Regions from separate parts of the Homo sapiens genome. Here region 2 is linked to region 1. Evidence: promoter capture Hi-C in 16 types of primary human blood cells and fetal thymus (Javierre and others, 2016). All regions are on one chromosome and are shown on one strand. The core of a region is centred on a gene start or on the middle of the fragment in contact, and the rest is flanking DNA. Distances in the headings are between cores, read along the strand shown. Region 1 holds the start of RNF41 (ring finger protein 41). Region 2 overlaps LOC105369781 (a long non-coding RNA gene).

Evidence for each region. Contacts are between HindIII fragments. The CHiCAGO score rates a contact against its expected background, and 5 or more counts as called.
Region 2: a fragment that was not itself captured here is called in contact with the fragment with the promoter of RNF41 in region 1 in 1 of 17 cell types (naive CD8 T cells); the score reaches 5.6 in naive CD8 T cells.

The regions. Positions count from the first base shown.
Region 1 is chr12:56,220,108-56,223,287 of GRCh38, forward strand. RNF41 (ring finger protein 41) reads right to left here and starts at 1,815. Exons shown (of 7, transcript NM_005785.4): 1 at 1,653-1,815. It also overlaps a transcript of NABP2 not described here. RefSeq lists enhancers at 1,737-1,786, 1,773-2,707, 2,007-2,226, 2,708-3,180, 3,058-3,180. The HindIII fragment of the contact is 1,612 bases long and covers 695-2,306 here.
Region 2 is chr12:56,009,603-56,012,721 of GRCh38, forward strand. LOC105369781 (a long non-coding RNA gene) reads right to left here. Exons shown (of 3, transcript NR_135023.1): 2 at 1,937-2,076; 3 at 490-669. It also overlaps a transcript of IKZF4 not described here. Among named protein-coding and RNA genes, the nearest start is that of IKZF4, 9.9 kb to the right of the region's middle. The HindIII fragment of the contact is 1,691 bases long and covers 611-2,301 here.

The DNA of each region.
Region 1 (3,180 bases), core at 565-3,064:
ACAGAATACAAAATAAGGCTGGGTGCAGTGGCTCATGCCTGTAATCCTAGCACTTTGGGAAGCCGAGATGGACCAATCACCTGAGGTCAGGGTTTTGTTTTGTTTTTTTTGGCGGGGGGTGTGGGGAGACAGAGTCTCACTCTGTTGCCCAGGTTGGAGTTCAGTGGTGGAATCTCAGCTCACTGCAACCTCTGCCTCCTGGGTTCAAGCAATTCTCCTGCCTCAGCTTCCCAAGTAGCTGGGACTACAGGTGCATGCAGCCATGCCCCGGCTAATTTTTTATATTTTTAGTAGAGACGGGGTTTCACTGTGTTGCCCAGGCTGGTCTCGAACTTTTGAGCTCAGGCAATCCGCCCGCCTCGTCCTCCCAAAGTGCTAGGATTACAGGCGTGAGCCACCGCGCCCGGCTACAGTCAGAGGTTTGAGACCAGCCTGGCCAACATGGTGAAACCCCATCTCAACTAAAAATACAAAAAATTAGCCAGGCATGGTGGCAGGTACCTGTAATCCCAGCTATTCAAGAGGCTGAGGCAGGAGAATCGCTTGAACCCAGAAAGAGGTGGCACTGAGCCGAGATTGTGCCACTGCACTCCAGCGTGGGTGACAGAGTGAGACTCCGTTTCAAAAAAAAAAAAAAACAAGAATGCAAAATAAATTTAGAGTACTGAGAGTCGGAGAGGAAATGCTTGACAAAAGCTTGTTCCTTCTTTTTACTAGAAGGCAGGGCTAGCCACAGGTCGGTCGGCTTAACATTGCATCACTCACATTCCCTACCACTAGTCCACTACATTCTTATTTGGGGCAAAACTATCAGCCAACAACACTATCAGTCTCTTGCCCTATTGTCAGACTCTAAAACCCCTGTATAGAAAGGGATAACACTATCACGGGCCAGTCCCCAAGAACAGTGGCCTCAATAACAGCCCCACTTGCTATTAAATGAAATGAAGTTTCTGAACGGGGAAGCAGTCTGTCAATCCCTCAAGCAAAACGCCTTCACCCCTCCTGGCTTTCTGCTCTTCCTCTAGCCCCCTCCTCCCCACTACCCAATTTCCCAAAGTCCTGAGTTAGGGAAGGCCTTCCAGTGTGTGGTGTGTGAACCCTGCCAGAGAGCCAGGCTGCAAACCAAGCGCAGGGATGTGAAGAATGTGAGATTCCTTCATGGAGGGCTGGGAGGGGGTGAGGAGCGGGGAAGGAATGAGAGGACAAGGCTGCCAACGACAAGGCATGGGAGAGGAGCCAAGCTATGGCGCTTCGAGGGCGGGGGTTTAGGTTCCACCGCCCCTGCCCAGGCTGGCCCCCGGAATGCTCCCTTCCTCCCCTTCTGGCCCGTCAATCATTGCCCATTTAAACACCACGCTGTTCCCCCAGTTCTGCAGGTGCCGGTCCTCCAGCTAGCCCCGGCCCCCTCCCGCACTTCTCAAAGCTCCCCTATTCCAATGGACCTTCCCCAACAACCCGTTCTCCAGAGCCCCCTTCTCACCTCCCGACTCCTCGCCAGTGCTGCTCCCTTCTCACATTTTTATCTCTACCACCATCCCTCCTCCTGAACCCCAGTTATTTCAACCCCCCGCCCCAATACCCCTGGGACATCACCTCCTCCCCTCCCACACCCTCTTTTAGGTGGAAGATCGCGCAGGCGCAGTACGCACCGCCCTGGAAGCGGCCTGGAGTCTCCGCAACCTGACCCAGTCGGAGCTGAGGCCGCAGCGGCCACAGTACTGCCCTGGTGCCGGGTCCCAGCCTCTCCCGGGAAGGGAAGGGAAAGGGGAAGGAGGGGAAAGAAGACTCCTACCACTCGTCGCCGCCTCAGACGGATCCTTTGCCCCGCCCACCGCTGCTACGCAACCCGGCGGAAGCTCGTCACCAAACCCCGCCTCTTTGTTTAACTCAGCCCCTACACCAGCAGCCAGGAGCTGCCTACGAGGAGGGACGAAGGCTGGCCAGGCCTCCACTCTAGACAGGAAGTCTAGTCTAGAGTCTATATGGTCCCAGCCAGGACTATGTAGCCATTTAGGAGGGAGAACTCTATGTTCTTCCCGGCAAAAACGTGTGGGCCTGGCCGGCCACGCTTCGCTTTGGAGGGGTGCAGGTGACTTGTGTCTTAGAGCTGACGCAGATTGTTGCGAGATCATTGCGGAGAGGCAGGCCTGCAGCGTGACCTGCTGCGGGTCCGGCCCCTCTCCCTTTTCCAGAGCCCTGGTCAGCATCCCAGAGCTTCGTAACCCCTTGACTCCTGTCATGGGAATGGATATTGCAGTTAACAAGGCGGCCGCGGGGTGGGGAGTGAGGGAGTCTGACCGCAAAGCTTAGATCTGGGGTGCTCAACGGGTTGTCTGCCTCTCTCCCAGGCGCTCTCCTGCCGTATCCACGATGGCTCCCCGAACACTTGTGGAGTTCCCTGAAACACCTAAGAGGAAGGAAGGGAGAAAAAATTTCCCTCTTCCTGAGTTGGGGTTTGATTTCCTTAGCTTACAACACCGTGGTGTTGGGGATGTGGGCGGTAGAGAACGTGGGATCCAAGGGAAGTCAATGTGGAGCCTAAAGAGCTCCGTGAGCAGATAAGGGATTAATTAAGCAAACCAAGGCATTACAATCACATGACTTCCTAGACTAATCTGGTATTAAATAGTATGGTATTTATTGTGGACATTGGCTAAGCAAATGCTAATGCACATTAATACACACATACACACATATCTTTATGTAATTTGTTTATACACAACAATACAGAGCTAGCTACCTTTTGTGGACAATTTGACAGGTCCCAAAAGGAACTAAAGTTTCAGGCCTCCTTTCTGCTGTCTTCTAGCGGGACTCTGAGATAAGTAAGATAAGAGTAGTATGGCCGGGCGCGGTGGTTCATGCCTTTAATCCCAACACTTTGGGAGACCGAGGCTGGTGGATCACGAGGTCAGGAGTTTGAGCCCAGGCTGGCCAACGTGGTGAAACCCCGTCTCTACTAAAAATACAAAAAAAGTAGCCGGGCGTGGTGGCGGGCGCCTGTAATCCCAGCTACTCGGGAGGCTGAGACAGGAGAATCGCTTGAACCCGGGAGGCAGAGGTTGCATTGCAGTGAGCCGAGATCGCGCCACTGCACTCCAACCTGGGCGACAGAGCAAGACTCCTTTGCCGGGGTGGAGCGGTGGGGCGGGGCGGGGAAGAGTAGTATGGCCAGGT
Region 2 (3,119 bases), core at 206-2,705, 210 kb before region 1:
GGGAAGCAAGAGAAGTTTCACTGGAGCTTCTGGGGTGGGCTTCAGAATGGTGAGAGCTGCCCTCATTTTGGCAGCTTCAGAATTATACCTTGCCCTAGTCAATAGAAGTTGATGTCTCAAACACAAAATATAATGTCTTTGTTGCCCACTGAGTGCAGTTAGTTAGTTGAATTGTAGCTTCTGGGCAATCCCCTTCCTCTGAGTAGGTTAAGGGTAAGGCATATTTCAGGACTTGGCTCAGAAATAAGTCCTGACTTTTTTCCAGTGAAAATGCAACTGAAAGTCTCTTTATGTCCTCTTAGTTTGAAATCTGCAGCTTGAACTTCCCAGCATGGGAGAAACTTATCCCACCTTTCACCGTACCCCCTGCCCCCCCACACACAGTAGTATCCACAAAGGAATTATTTTTTTTCCCCAACTGGCCATCTCTCTCTCTGTCTCTCTCTCTCTCTCGCCACACACACACACACCAAAGAAAAAGAAAGATAGGTATTTCTAGCCTCGTTTTACTCTGTAGGAACAAATAAGAGTGTGGGACCCTGTGAGTGTGGACAATGCCACAGGCAGAGGGACTCCCTTTCTTTATTGGTCTGTTGACTCTGCTGAAGAAAGCTTTGAATTCCAGGCTTTGATTTGCTTCCTCTTCTTAGAAGAGTTATGGACTCTGTTCTGGAAACAGAGAGATAGGTTCAAAGTTTATCAGACAAAGGCATCTAAGAAAGGGTAGTGCTGATATGAATGACCTGGTCCAGCTGCGGGGAGGATCCACATTGTAGGCTCTGATGCAATACCTATGCTGGGGTAGTCCTCAAGCTAAGAGGCCGTTTCTACTTTAGAGACTTAATGACCATCTAGTTTGGTGTTTTCCTCAGGTCCATTATCTCTGAAAAGAGACATAGGAGGAAGAGGATTATTTATCCTCCCATCCATAAGCCTGTGTTTCCAGTTCAAGGATTTAGGTCAGCAAGACGCAGACCCAAAAACCATTCATTTAATAACCCAAGAAAGAAGGCAAGCAGGGTGGCCCAAATCTTCCAACTGGGGCAAGATTTAATATAGTGTTCCAGTGGAAAGAATCTTCTAATGGTAACTTGGACTCTACATGTCCTAATTCTGTTGTTAATGAGATTGATGACTCTGGGCTTAGTTTCTTCTGTTAAAAACTAGGAAATTGTAGATAATCTCTCAACTCCATTTCAGCTCCAGGATTTCTCAGTTCCTGGAGTACCCCTGCCCTAGACCCTCCACATGAAGAAGAGAGTCTTACCAAATTGGATTATCAGAGCAAGACTATTAGCAGAGAAGCCTGAAAACATCTTTCTGGCCCAAACAACAGTGAACTTTTTTGATCAGCATGTATTAGGGACTTTTGGGCACAATTGCAATCAAAGGCAATTGTTCCTGTCTCTTCTACATTTTTTTTGCTACTGTACCCTAGTCAGAATAGTTCACTGAGACTTCCCTGTAATTTCAAACTTCACTTGAGAGTGCTAACCCTGTTTTGGGCATCTTTGGCTTTAAAACTGATTATTATAAAACTCAAATTGAATTTCCCTGCTCTACTTTCTCCACCCCTGCCAAACATACCACTGAACAGCAGTGATTTTGTGAGGCCTTTCTATAAACAGAGAGCTATACTTGGGGGTACACCCAAAAACCCCAAAAAGTATCATCTCCTATGTATCATATCTAGTGATTTAAAGTGTTTAGTTTGGCCCTTTTCCTTAGTTCCTTATGTCCTGAAATGAGACATGGGAGGGATAGGATCGTTTCTTCTCCCACTCATAAACCTTAGCCTTCTCTCTCTTCTGCAGTCTACATGGGGAGGACAGAGAAGCGCAAAGAACAAGAGAAAAGATGCATCCATCTGAGATCTAAAAGGAGACAATGAGGTGATATTTTCCCCCTGCCCAGGTGTTGTGTTTTCAGCTCTTACCCCTTTTTATTTTAGAGACTGGCCATTCCTAGGATGACCTGGGAATTTATCCCCTCTGCACTGCTCCCCAAGCACTTGGATAATGAAGCTGAGCTGTCTTCAACTGTATTATATGTAGACAGAAGGTCACCATCTACAGCCTGGTGAAAAATGAGTCAGACCTTTCCACTGTAAAGACAAACACATGAGCTGAGCTAAGGTTGGTGGGTTTCCTTCAGAGAGCACTAGGTTGACCCTAAAGATAATTTCAGAGCTGCAAATTGCTTGATGTCTAGGTCTTTTTCCTGGAAAGGGGCTTGCAGACAGTGGCTAATTCCATACCTTTCCCTGGCCCCTTTGCGTCTTCTCCCTCCTCAATTATGCAAAGCTTTGATAGAGAGCAGAGCCAGCTATGTGATTTCAACATATTTTTGCTCAGATTTCACTCAGTTCAGGAAGGCATAGACAGTAGAGGATGATGCTGTGGGTTTGCTCTACTTGTAGCACCTGAATGGCTCATACCCAAGGCACATGGGAAGTTCTGTCTTGTTAATAACTACTGCTCTCCACCGCAGAACCCAGGTACTAAGGGAAAGTGGAGAAAATTTTTCTACTTCTGCCTGTTATAGTTTGGGAATAATAACAAAAACATGGTATGGATCCTTGCCATTCTCTCTACCTTCACCATCTTTCCCAACAATATTCTTCTCATGACCTTTTACCCCCTAGGCCACATTAAGCATGTGTTAAATGACTTTTTTTTTTTTTTTTTTTGAGACGGAGTTTTGTTCTTGTTGCCCAGTCTGGAGTGCAATGGCCCGATCTCGGCTCACTGCAACCTCCGCCTCCTGGGTTCAAGCGATTCTCCTGCCTCAGCCTCCTGAGTAGCTGGGATTACAGGCATGAACCACCACCCCTGGCTAATTTTGTATTCTTCGTAGAGATGGGGTTTCTCCATTTGGTCAGGCTGGTCTCGAACTCCTGACCTCAGGTGATCCACCCACCTTGGCCTCCCAAAGTGCTGGGATTACAGGCGTGAGCCACCACACCTGGCCTAAATTACTTTTTTTTTTTTTTAGTGTCTCAGTGTGTTGCCCAGGCTGGCCTAGAACTCCTGGCCTCAAGCAGTCCTCTTGCCTTGGCCTCCCAAACTGCTGGGATTGGCCCTCACTGCTGCCTGTCAGGGAGCCTGGTGGGAAATCTT